Regions from separate parts of the Homo sapiens genome. Here region 2 is linked to region 1. Evidence: promoter capture Hi-C in 16 types of primary human blood cells and fetal thymus (Javierre and others, 2016). All regions are on one chromosome and are shown on one strand. Each heading gives the region's core, a stretch centred on a gene start or on the middle of the fragment in contact. The rest is flanking DNA. Distances are from core to core; before and after follow the strand shown. Region 1 holds the start of GGA3 (golgi associated, gamma adaptin ear containing, ARF binding protein 3). Region 2 holds the start of UNK (unk zinc finger).

Evidence for each region. The method cuts DNA at HindIII sites, captures the fragments that hold promoters and counts their contacts. A CHiCAGO score of 5 or more calls a contact.
Region 2: the fragment with the promoter of UNK here is called in contact with the fragment with the promoter of GGA3 in region 1 in 7 of 17 cell types (fetal thymus, total B cells, naive CD4 T cells and 4 more); the score reaches 10.1 in fetal thymus.

Annotation. Positions count from the first base shown.
Region 1 is chr17:75,259,105-75,265,108 of GRCh38, forward strand. It overlaps GGA3 (golgi associated, gamma adaptin ear containing, ARF binding protein 3), which reads right to left and starts at 2,502. Exons shown (of 17, transcript NM_138619.4): 1 at 2,444-2,502. The coding sequence starts at 2,483. MRPS7 (mitochondrial ribosomal protein S7) reads left to right here and starts at 2,775. Exons shown (of 5, transcript NM_015971.4): 1 at 2,775-2,879; 2 at 3,393-3,584; 3 at 3,700-3,763; 4 at 4,236-4,403. The coding sequence starts at 2,797. RefSeq lists enhancers at 1,908-2,007, 2,478-2,887, 2,684-3,561. The HindIII fragment of the contact is 945 bases long and covers 2,051-2,995 here.
Region 2 is chr17:75,782,358-75,789,172 of GRCh38, forward strand. UNK (unk zinc finger) reads left to right here and starts at 2,449. Exons shown (of 16, transcript NM_001080419.3): 1 at 2,449-2,627. The coding sequence starts at 2,524. It overlaps MIR4738 (microRNA 4738), which reads right to left and starts at 2,250; the gene lies at 2,164-2,250. RefSeq lists enhancers at 801-980, 2,543-3,121, 2,711-3,110, 3,122-3,699 and a silencer at 2,511-2,650. The HindIII fragment of the contact is 1,873 bases long and covers 1,903-3,775 here.

The sequences.
Region 1 (6,004 bases), core at 1,252-3,751:
CACTACGCCTGGCTATTTTTTTGTATTTTTTAGTAGAGACGGGGTTTCACTGTGTTAGCCAGGATGGTCTCGATCTCCTGACCTCGTGATCCACCCGCCTCGGCCTCCCAACGTGCTGGGATTACAGGAGAGTTCTTCATCCACTCCAGCATCACCTCCATCCAACTAAAGGCAAAATCTTCTTAAACTTCCTAACTCCTATAACACCCCACGTAGCAGGTACTCATTAAACATTGATTGATTGATCATGGTGGGACTTGAAAGAAGACTGAAGTCATCAAGAGATGGTTTGTGAGAAAAGAGAATCTGAGATGGGTTTTCAAGCATTTAGTTGAGGAAACGGGAGCAGGGCTTCCAGGTAAGGAGAGCAACGTGTATTGGTAAACCAAGAACATCAGACTGAGTAGAGCAGGAAAACGTAGAAGCCACAGAGAAAAAGGCCTGGAACAACCAAGGCCAGATTACAGGCAACAGTGGAATGATTTGATTCAACACAAGTGCGCTTCTGGGAGCAGAATGGACTGAGGAGAGGTGAGGACGGGAGAGACCTGGGTCTCTGGGCCAAGCAGAGGCTTCTGCAACAATTCAGGCAAACGTGGGGTGACAAGGACGCTGACTGAGACGATGCTGAACCCCAACTGCTGGTTTGTTCAACTGGTACAGTTCACATTAAGTCGTAACAACTGTGAAGCTTATGTCTCTACAGATACCATGTGACTCCCCCCCACCAAGTGTGTCCCTCTCATTTCATAATGTGACTCTAGGCTGGGTGCGGTAGCTCACGTGTGTAATCCCAGCGCTTTGTAAGGGAAAGGTGGGAGGATCACTTGAACTCGAGTTTGAGACCATCCTGGGCAACACAGCAAGACCTCATCTCTACTAAAAATCAAAAGAATTAGCCAAGCATGGTGGCGTGTGCCTATAGTCCCAGCTACTCAGGAGGCTGAGGTAGAAGACTTATTTGAGCACAGGGGTTCAAGGCTGCAGTGAGCTATGATCGCACCCCTGCACTCCAGCCTAGACAACAGCGCGCGAGACTCTGTCTCAAAAACAAGTAACAAAAACAAAATGTAACTCTAAATGTAGCCTATTAAACTCAGCTTAGGTCATTTAAATTATTCAATACCCATATTAATACCTTCAAAGCAAACTAATTCCACTCTGGTTATAGCAAGTTGGGCATTTCTGGGCAAGTGGTTTGACTGGAGTCAGGATGTCCTCTTTTTGTGAAATTATGGCAGTAGTGCCTGCTTTGCTAGAATACTTGGTAAACTAATTTAATGAATATCTGTAAAGTACTTTGAGCTCCTTGGAGAACACTTCCATATATAAAGAAGCCTTATGACCTGCCTGCAACTGCAGATTTTGCAAACGTGATCTTACTTTTTCTCTCTTTTGGGATATGCTCCCCTTTAAACTGAAGCTCAACCTCCTGAAGGGGGTTTCTTACTAGGAAAAATCAGACAATTTGAGGAAATAGCTATCACCTCCAAGATCCCGGAAGCAGTACTAAATAAGAGACCTCAGAACAAGGCAATACTAGGTATCTCACCTATCCCATTACCAGTCCAATTTCTCTCTCCACTTAAAGGAGGCTTCCAGGTCTAGCCTACAGGAAAGTTCACTTATTAACCCTCAGGCAGAGTACTACCTGCTAACCAGGTTAACACACATTTCCTTCGTAGCACTGTAATTCACAGTGCAATGACAGCAATACGCTTCTATAACTACAGCTTCAGACTGTGCTCCTCAGCCTTACTCAGAATAGGCTATCAACACTGACTCGTTAGGATATTCAAGGGGGTATATGTATGTGTGTGGGGGGGGAATTCCCGACACCGATTTCACCATGCTTCTGTGGTCACTGCAGGAAAAAGGTAGAGCTCTCTGTTCTCTATCATCGCTCTCTTTGGAATATTATTCTCACTTCAAGCATTCTGCCTGAGCGAAGCCGTCACTTCTCCAACACATGGTCACAATTCTGAAGCTGCCAGGCGACTGAACGCAGTCGGCAGCACCCACCACTACCGGAGACTCAGCCCCAATCCGAAGCTTCTCCCTTAGTCAGGGATTGGGGCGCTGGGTTCCTGGTGTCACCGCCGGGCGGCGACCCCACCACAATCTCCCCAAAGCGCCGAAGCATGTCAGCCCGAAGATCTTGGCTGTCGCCTTTCCCCGAGCCTGCGGTGCCCGACAGGAGCCCGAGTTCACGCCGCCGCGCGCCAGAGCAAGAGGACGCGCCGCAGCGAGGGAAGCGGGGGCCGGACTGGGGCCCGGCGCCCTGATAGGGAAGGGGCGTGATCGCAGGCTGCTCGCGGCGAGGGCGAGACCGGGCGTGGGCTGCCAAGAGGCGACGCCGTGGAGCCCGGGGAGGGGACGTGGGGGTGAAGACAGGGGCAGCCCAGCGGCTCGAGGGCAGGCAGAAACGGCCGCGGCTACTCACTGAGCCAGGACTCCAGGCTTTCCCCTTCCGCCTCCGCCATATTGCAGCCGCCCGGCCCCGCGGCTTCAAAACTCGCGAGAGTCTGCACGAGCTGAGACGGGGCGGGGCCTGCATGGGGTCCTGAGAGGAGTGAGTGCCGTCACCGAGGGCCGCGCCAGACTGCGACGGATACAGGGAGGGCAAGGGTTTCCTTTTGGCGCTCCCCTTTGGACCCCGGAGTGAAAAACTCTAACGTCCAGATCAGTGGAGAGAAACGCAGATTTAGGACCCTGAGGAGTCTTTTTCACCCGTTTCCCGTCACTCGCTCAGGCGCGCCGAGGGCAGTCCTTGTGGGGTCCTCGTGGCCAGCCAAGATGGCTGCCCCCGCAGTGAAGGTTGCCCGAGGATGGTCGGGCCTGGCGTTGGGCGTGCGGCGGGCTGTCTTGCAGCTTCCAGGGTGAGAGGGTGGCGAGCAGCGGCGGGGGGGCGCTGCGAGGAAGGAAGGGGGCCACAGGCAGGCCGCGTGGGCCCCTAGAGAGAGCATTGCCCTGGGGGCCGGAGTATCTGGATTCAAGCTTCTAAGTTAGCTGCGTGACCCTGCGCCAATCCGAAGGTTTAGTGACTACCTCTCGCCTAAGGAGTCTGGCTGATCTAGGGTTCTAACGCGGAGCTGAAAGTGCGGTTCAGCTAAAGAGCTCAGATCTGGGATCGCCTGTGAATTGGGATGGGTGTGTAGGCGCCAAGCCCATCCTTACCGTTAGCACTTGACCAGGAGGAGACTTTACCCGCCTGCTTGGGGAATGTCCTCCTACTTGGGACAAGGGCCTGAATTGTTGTGGCTCAGGTTTAGCTCGCGGTCTCCGCGCCGCTCCCCCTCGTCGGCGCGTTGGCAGTCATGCCTATTGTTAAGTCAAACCTACTCGCTTGTGGAGTCAGCTTTTGCCTGCCTCCTCCTTTCCCCCCCTCCCAGGCTAACTCAGGTGAGATGGAGCCGCTATAGTCCTGAATTCAAGGATCCCTTGATTGACAAGGAATATTATCGCAAGCCAGTGGAGGAGCTAACTGAGGAGGAGAAATATGTTCGGGAGCTCAAGAAGACTCAGCTCATCAAAGCTGCTCCAGCAGGGAAAACAAGTTCTGTGTTTGAAGACCCAGTCATCAGGTTAGATGGAAACAAACACTTGTTACATGGACTGGGACTATCCCAGGGAGGGTTTCTGGTGAGGATTCTGTGATACAGCCTTGGAGAGCTAAACGTGTTGCTTTTCTCTTTGAAGTAAATTCACCAACATGATGATGATAGGAGGAAACAAAGTACTGGCCAGATCCCTCATGATTCAGGTAAACAGCACTTCCCTCCTCAGTCATCTTTCTTGCCCCCCTACCCCGTAGCCTTGTACTTGGTACTTTCAGTGTAGCTTAAGAGCAAATGGATTCATGTATCTATTATTCAGATTAACTTCCCTGCATGTGTACGGGCTTTAATGAAGCCCTGTAAGAGTCAGCAACTGCCATTCCTTGGTGTTTCGGAAGTAAACACACAATTAAAAAAAAAGGAACAAATAAAAAATAAAACAACTGCCATTCCCCACCTCACCCCCCACCCCCTCCATGCCACAAATCTCAATCCACTCTTTCTGTCCTAGTCTAGCAAAGGGGGAGGCACTTAAAAACTTTGTTTTGGATGTGCTGTGAGAGGAGCTGCATTGCCAGCGCAGAACCAGAGGATGGGAGTAAAGGGCAAGGTACTAGCTTGGCTGGGTAAACCCTTTAGGGAGCCTGGGGCAGCCTCTTCCACCATATTCTTTTGCAGACTCTGGAAGCTGTGAAAAGGAAGCAGTTTGAGAAGTACCATGCCGCTTCTGCAGAGGAACAGGCAACCATCGAACGCAACCCCTACACCATCTTCCATCAAGCACTGAAAAACTGTGAGCCTATGATTGGGCTGGTACCCATCCTCAAGGGAGGCCGTTTCTACCAGGTGAATGAATGGCCAGGGCAAGAAAGCAGGGCCCTCCACATGTGAAACAAGATAGGTGGTGCTTGGGAGTTGGGTCAAGATTGATAGCTTTCTAGCTGGTGCAGTGGGATTGCACCTGTAATCTCAGCACTTTGGGAGCCTAATGCAGGATAGCTTGAGCTCAGGAGTTAAGAGACAGCAGGGCAACATAGGGAGATCCCGTCTCTACAAAAAAAACAAAAAAATTAGCCAGGTGTGGTGGTGTGCATCTGTGCTCCCAACTACTCAGGAGGCTGAGGTAGGAGGATCACTTGAGTCCAGGAGGTCAAGGCTGCAGTGAGTTATGATTACGCCCCTGCATTCCAGCCTGGGCAAGAGAGAGAAACCTTGTCTCAGAAAAAAAAAAAAAAAAAACGGCTGGGCACGGTGGCTCACACCTGTAATCCCAGCACTTTGGGAGGCCGAGGTGGATGGATTACCTGAGGTGGGGAGTTCGAGATCAACAAGGAGAAACCCTGTTTCTACTAACAATACAAAATTAGCCAGGTGTGGTGGCACATACCAGTAGTCCCAGCTACTTGGGAGGCTGAAGCAGGAGAATCGCTTGAACCCAGGATGCAGAGGTTGCAGTGAGCCGAGAGCACACCACCGCACTCCAGCCTGGCAACAGAGCAAGACGCCATCTCAAAAAAAAAAAAAAAAAAAGAATTGAGACTGTTACGGTCCACTCATCTGAGTCCTGTAGCGTAAAAATTATAGGCAGAAGGTGGAAGAGAGTGAAGAAGTATCTAAGTGACATCTGGGAGCCCACCTCCCTTCGCCTTCTTCTGTCAAGCATCCTGTGTGTCCTAACCTGTAAAATTCTCATGGCGAGGGACTATTCATATCCTGTCTTTGTATGCCAGTGTTTGGCATAGTGCTTGACCGATAACTGATGCTTCATCAGTGTTTGCTGAACAGTACTAGGTATCTCTTTCATAGCATTTAATTATATTTTATTGTCCTGAGTTTTCTTGTGTTCTCCTTTTTCAATATCAACTCCATGGGGTAGGGACTTCATTATTGTCTGCACTCTCGTGTCTGGCATGGTACTGACGCATAGTGAGGGCCTGACAAATGATTTTTGGACACGGGGTCTTGTTTTTGGTTTTCTTTAACTGTTTGTATAGGGTCTTTTTGTTTTTAACTTTTTTTTTTTTTTTTGAGATGGAGTTTCGCTTTTGTTGCCCAGACTGGAGTGCAGTGCTGTAATCTCAGCTCTCGGCTCACTGCAGCCTCCGCCTCCCGGGTTCAAGAGATTCTCCTGTCTCAGTCCCTGCCCACCCCAAGTAGCTGGGATTACAGGTGGCCGCCACCATGCCCAGCTAATTTTTTTGTATTTTTAGTAGAGACAGGGTTTTGCTGTGTCTGAAGACTGAAGGGGTCTTGTTTTTAGGTACCTATGGTCTGAGGTGGATTAGTCACCCCAGCTAATGGGGCTTTTCCTATTTGGTTCTTATAACAACTTGGTAGGACTACCATTTAGGAGGGAAAATGGCCAGTGCTTTTCTTCTTTTTCTTTTTCTTTTTTTTTGAGACGAAGTCTCGCTCTGTTGCCCAGGCTGGAGTGCAGTGGTGCATTC
Region 2 (6,815 bases), core at 1,199-3,698, 520 kb after region 1:
CCTCAGCCTCCTGAGTAGCTGGGACTACAGGCGCCCGCCACCACGCCTGGCTAATTTTTTTGTATTTTTAGTAGAGACAAGGGTTTCACCATGTTAGCCAAGATGGTCTCGATCTCCTGACCTTGTGATCCGCCCACCTCGGCCTCCCAAAGTGCTGGGATTACAGGCTTCAGCCACCACTCCCTGCTGTGTTTCACGATTTTTCTAGGTTATACAGAATCCTGTCATTTCCATGCCTTTGTGTGGATGGACAGTCATTTTCTTTCCAGCTTTGCTGATTATTAGAAACTAAAGCCACCCGGAGAAAAAAGGTATGGATATACATTTATCCATTTAAGTATGATTCGTGGAAACAGGAGTCCGGGCGCAGTGGCTCACGCCTGTAATCCCAGCTCTTGGGAGGCTGAGGAGGGTGGATCGTGAGGTCAGGAGTTCGAGACCAGCCTGACCAACATGGTGAAACCACGTCTCTACTAAAACTACAAAAATCAGGTGGGCGTGGTGGCACACACCTGTAATCCCAGCTACTCAGGAGGCTGAGGCAGGAGAATTGCTTGAACCTGGGAGGCAGAGGTTGCAGTGAGCCGAAATCACACCACTGCACTCCAGCCTGGGCAACAGAGCAAGACTCTGCCTCAAAAAAAAAAAAAAAAAAAAAAAAAAAAGGCTGTCTCTCTTACTTCGTAGTCATGCAGGTATGTTTCACTTTTTCCAGATTGGTACAACGGAGGAAAAGCAACACAGGAAATGAGGAAGAATAAAAAATGTTTATACAATGAAAAAAAGCAGAAGAAAACAAAACAAACAAAACCCAACAGTGAATGTGATGTAGTCTTGTAGGCTACTGTCCTAGTTCCTCTTGTTACCAACTTGCTGAGTAACTTTGTGCAAGTTACTTAGCTTCTCTGGGTTTCGGTTTCCTCTTTTGTAAATTAAGCAGTTTGGATGATATCATCTCCCAACTCCACCAGTACACACTTATTCTGAAGCTCATGATATACATCTATTATTTAAAATCCAGTGCTGTGAACTCTATTTCTTCAGTCAGATCACACTTGAGTATTGTGAGGCTAACATAAACCAAGTAACTTGCGTTTAATCATAGGATTAAAGCAATATACTACAACTTTTATTTGTCCTTTTGTAATTTTTCATTTTCAAACGCCCCTAGTGGCTAAACGATTTAGCCTGTTTAGGAAAAACCAGTTTCTCAACTCTGTGATGTGGCTTCTGATGTGAGGGAACTTGGAGCTAAATAAAATAAGTATGTGTCACTCAAACATTAACGATTTTCCATTAGCCCCACCACCCTTCATCCCTAAGGTTATTTGGAATGTGTTTCTTTAATGAGATAATCATTTGTTAATATAATCCCATCTAAGAAAATATAAATCAAAACCAGTGGATTTGAAATAGATTCAATATGAAAAACCAAATTAAATGACAACGGTTAAAATATCTACGGAGAACATTCTAAAACTCACAGAAACAAATGCCTAGGTCTGGGGCATCTGGCTTATTTTATAAAGTGAAGAACTTTGCTTGACTGGTGGGAAGCAGAGAGGGGAAAGATAATGTCCCAAGTAAAAAGGCTGACGTCCAGACAAGAAAACTAGAGTGGATAAATACGGGCACGCCCTACTCAAACCCAGGCCTTTCCTCTGGACCCTGTGATGCTTCTCAACACTGGCAACTTGTCAGTGTACCTCAGAGACTATTCTAGGCGGAGATTAAATTCGTCCTTGGCCCTTAATGTACTGGAAACAAGTTGGTCAGGCCAGGTGTCAGGCTGAGAAAGCACACAAGTCGTGGAGTTCCAGGTGTCGAGTTTGGCAAAGGTAAATGAAGCGCCTCGGCAAAGGCGCGGGAACTGTAGCGTGCGGTGTACCTCCTCCTTAGCAAAGCTTTCTCAATGCCTCTTAGGTTAGACCCGCCGCAGGGATGAAGGGGTTGCTGGCGGATTGCAGGTGCCTGCAGCACAGGGCCCAGAACTAAGAACCGACAACACAGATTCTTAAGCCCTGCTTGGAGCACTGCTCTGAGCTGGCATTAGAACCGAACCTAGCTGTACTAAGTATAAAGGCAAAGTAGTTATGACACTGTTGGCAGTGAAATTATACTTGGAACTCTTTCGCAGAAATCGCTAGGGCCTCCCTAGCTCTGGGCCCCTTCTCCTCCAGGCGCTCCAGTTTCATGGAAAGGCTTCCCTATGAAACTGAAAACGCGCTGGTAAGAAGGAGAAATGCGACCGGACTGCAATTCCCAGAAGCCGTCGCAGGCCCTCAGCATCCGGGACACTAGCAGCAAGGATCCCTGGGTATTGTGGTCCTGTGCTTTGCCAGCAACCCTCTGCCGACGGTAAAATTCCAGCCGGACATAGAACCACAACTCCCAGCAACCCCTGCTGCCGTGTGGGGGGTCTTCACGTTCTCGTGGCGCGGCGCAGGCGCACTGGGTCCTCGGCGCGGACCGCGCAGACTGAATAATAAAAGGGGAGCGGCGAAGAGGCAGGAAGACAAGACCATGTCGAAGGGCCCCGGGCCCGGCGGCTCCGCAGCTTCCTCGGCGCCCCCGGCCGCTACCGCTCAGGTGCTGCAGGCACAGCCCGAGAAACCGCAGCACTACACGTACGTAGAGCCCCCCCCCCCCCGCCGCGCGCGCACGCCTGACGTCAGCGGCCAGCGTGAGTCACGCGCGCAGGGAGAGCGCGAGGCGGCCTCTTCCTCCCCCCCTTCCTCCTCCGGCCCGGCCCAGACCGGTTCCAACCTGCTGGGGCCGGTCCCAACTGCCTCCAACTGCCACCAACCTCTGGTCGGGCTGTGGGGCGGGAAACTCGGTCCCGGCCGCCGAGTGGGGAAGGCGGGAGCTCGGGATGCAGAGTGCACTCTCCCTAGGCCAGGCCTTCGAGGCCTAACTGTTCCTCAGACCATAAAACCACAGTAGTAGGCTCCTTTGGGGCAGTGAGAAGTCCAAGACACAACCAAGAGGAGTTCCGTGGGGTCCAGCCCCAGAACCCACCTATGAATGATGATTAACGTGAAGTCCTGTCAGGAGATTCCGTGCAGTTTGCGCAGGAAGCCTTTTGTGTCCCTAAGGCTCGTAGGTTGTCCACGAGGGCCACACTTGCTTGAATTCACAGTCGACGTAGATAAACATGCAAAGATGGAAACGTGTCCGTGCGTGCCCATGACCGTTTCCCTCGCGGGCTGTGCGGAGCCTGAGTCTGGGAGCCCGAAGGTGATGGGTTCCAAGTATGTCTGCAGGCTCAGCAGAAATGTAGCATTAGAGGGAGCCCCAAATACTGACACTACAGGAGTCCAGCAGGATGGGAAAACCTCTTCCTGGAAGTCTTGCATCTGTGTGCTTTTAGGTCGCTGTCTTCATTTCCTTCAAGCCACGTTAAGCATTCCCTAGAGTTAGGTGATGTGGGAGAAAGATGAATAAGGGGCGGTTTCTCCTGTTAAGCAAAATGTTGCTTTCCATTTTCCCTGATGCTCTGTGAATGCCTCTCATCCCCATGGGCTCCTGAGTGATGTGCATGTTTAAAAGGATCCCCAGCTGCGAGAGGTTTTGGAACCTGGGGGGTTGAACAGCTCTTAAGTTGTTCAGTGAACGAAGAACAGAATCATCTGTTGGAGTAGAAAGAACTCAAACCAGTCAGGAGGAACTCTTGTTATAGAAGACCTTGGGAAACTGTTCTGGGGTTGGGGAACATTGGTTATAGGAAGTGTATGGTTTCTTTGTGGGATTCTTTGTTGTTGGCTGAAATCATTTAAGCTTCTTGACTACAGTCTGACTCACGTTAACCATTCCTTTTCTGATATGGACATTGCTTTCCTGGTCCTTTCTTACTGGAGATCTTTCGCAGTCTTTCCATTGATTTTGGTGAGATGTTCTTAGCTCAAAGACTACTGATGAGTTGAATGGTGTAGTCTTGATTTTCGAATCTGGAAACTTCACGTAATTGGAACTTCTTTATAATCTCTGGTTGCTCAGATCACTGTTTTTAGCAAAATAAACACATTTTGAGTCACGAGAGTCTTGGCTTCAGCAACTTGTGTTTCTGTGTTGTGTTGTCATTGAGCATACTATGGAATCTGTAATAGAAAGGCTTTCTTATTTTGGAATTGACAGGTGAAACAAGTGAACAGCTGATTAAATGTCAGTATCTGAGTCTTTGTCCTCTTGATGCTCATTTGTTTAAAACCTGTCTTTCCTGCCGGGCGTGGTAGCTCTCACGCCTGTAATCACAGCATTTTGGGAGGCCGAGGCGGATCGCATGAGGTCAGGAGTGAAGAGACCAGCCTGCCCAATATGGCAAAACCCCGTCTCTACTAAAAATACAAAAAATTAGCTGGGTGTGCTGGCGGGCGCCTGTAATCCCAGCTACTCAGGAGGCTGAGGCAGGAGAATCGCTTGAACCCGGGAGGCGGAGGTGGCAGTGAGCCGAGATCGTGCCACTGCACTCCAGCCTGAGCGACAAGAGCAAAACTCCGTCTCAAAAAACAGAAACAAAAACAAAAAAAAAGCCTGCCTTTCCATTCCTTGTGGGTAAGTATAGAGTAATGGGACCTGGCTCTTGAGGTGTCTTAGGAAATCAACAGGAGTAGGTGAAATAGCCAAGCTTGATGGGAGGTTGTAGGTGTTCTTATCTCTTTGTCTGTTCATATGTATGTGTGTTTTTATATTTGTATTTCCAAAAATCAGAGATAGAAATCAGTGGTCTTTCTTGCTAGACTTACTAGCATTCAGAAGCTGTGATGACCTGGAAAACTTCATCCCCTAGTCCTCCTAGGGCTGAGGTGCAGGGAGCATGAGGACACATATGATGGAACCAGCACACTTGCTGGCTCTGATTTTTCTTTTTCTTTTTTTTAAGATAGGGTCTCTGTCATCCAGGCTATAGTGCAGTGTCACCATCTCAGCTCACTGTAGCCTCGACCTCCCTGGCTCAAGTGATCCTCCCACCTCAGTCTCCTGAGTAGCTGGGACTACAGGCACACCTGGATACATTTTTTTGGTATTTTTTGTAGAGACGTGATTTTGCCATGTTGCCCAGCCTAGTCTCGAACTCCTGTGATCGAGCAGGCGCAAGCAATCTACTGTTGGGCCTTGGCCTCCCAAAGTGCTGGGAGGCCACCACACCCAGCTTTTTTTTTTTTTTTCCTCTTCTTAAAAGAGACATGGGCAGGGTGCGGTTGCTCACACCTGTAATCCCAGCACTTTGGGAGCCTGAGGTGGGTGGATCACTTGAGGTCAGGAGTTCGAGACCAACCTGGCCAACATGGAAACCCCGTCTCTACTAAAAATACAAAAAATTAGTCAGGCCTGGTGGCACACACCTGCAGTCCCAGCTACTCAGGAGGCTGAGGCAGGAGAATCGCTTGAACCCAGGAGGCAGAGGTTGCAGTGAGCAGAGATTGTGCCACTGCACTCCAACCTGGGTGACAGAGTGAGACTCGGTCCAAAAAAAAAAAAAAAGAGAGACGTGATCTCTCTGTGTTAACCAGGTGGACTTGAATTCCTGGGCTCAAGCAGTCCTGCCTTAGCCTCCTGAGTAGCTGGGACTACAGGCACATACCACCATACCTGCTTCCCTCCACCCCCATAAGGTGAATTCATTTATTGCCCTTGGGAGTTAGGGGGCGGGAGCATTTTGATTTTGATTTTAAATGAAAATTTGAGCTGCTTGGGAGGTAAACAGTGGGTACACATGGACATACGGAGTGGAATAATAATTGATCATTGATAATAATTGATCCCATTTTGAATACAGAGATAGACCCCTTTTGAATATTTGTAAGTTTTTGCCTGTCAATTTTTTCTTTTTTTTTTTTTTGGAGACAAAGTCTCACTCTGTTGCCCAAGCTGGAGTGCAGTGGCGTGATCTCAGTTTACTGCAACCTCCACCTCCCGGGTTTAAGCAATTCTCCTGCTTCAGCTTCCTAAGTAGCTGGGACTGCAGGCACACGCCACCATGGCTGGCTAATTTTTGTATTTTTAGTAGAGACAGGGTTTCACTGTGTTGGCCAGGCTGATCTCGAACTCCTAACCTCGTGATCCGCCCACCTTGGCCTCCCAAACTGCTGGGATTACAGGCGTGAGCCACTGTTCCCGTCTGCCTGTCAAATTTTTTACCTTTTTAAACTTTTATTTATTTATTTAGTTGTATTTTTAGTAGAGATGGGGTTTCACCATGTTGGTCAGGCTGGTCTTGAACTCCTGACCTCGTGATCTGCCCGCCTCGGCCTCCCAAAGTGCTGGGATTACAGGTGTGAGCCACCGCGCCCAGCCACTTTTATTTTTATTTTTAATTTTTTTTTTAAATTTATTTTTGTCACCCAGGTTGGTTGGACAGAGCAAGAGACAGGATCTTGCTCTGTCACCCAGGCTGGTGTACAGTGGCATGGGAAGGCGTGAGCCTGAGAAGGTGTGAGCCACCTCACCTGGACTTTCTTATACATTAATTAATTTTGTATAGTTTTATACCTGATGTTATTTGAAATTAGGTAACATGCTGTAGTCTTTGCAATAATCCAGAGACACTTGTGTGATAATTGAGTCTCACTCACCATAACAGTAATCTTGGCAAACACAGTTGAATACACTAAAAGCAAAAAATTATGTTGCCATTGGTTTCCCTTTCTTGCCCTTCATTCTTGTGCTGAAATTAAAGTTCTTAGAGTTTGAGCCCTCCTTTTCCTAAACCAAGAGGATTATTCATAACATAGTTTAAAGGATAATTTTGTTGATTTTTTTTTTCTAAACTCTTGAATAATCTTGCTTTAAGGGAAACTTTGGAATAATCCTTTCAG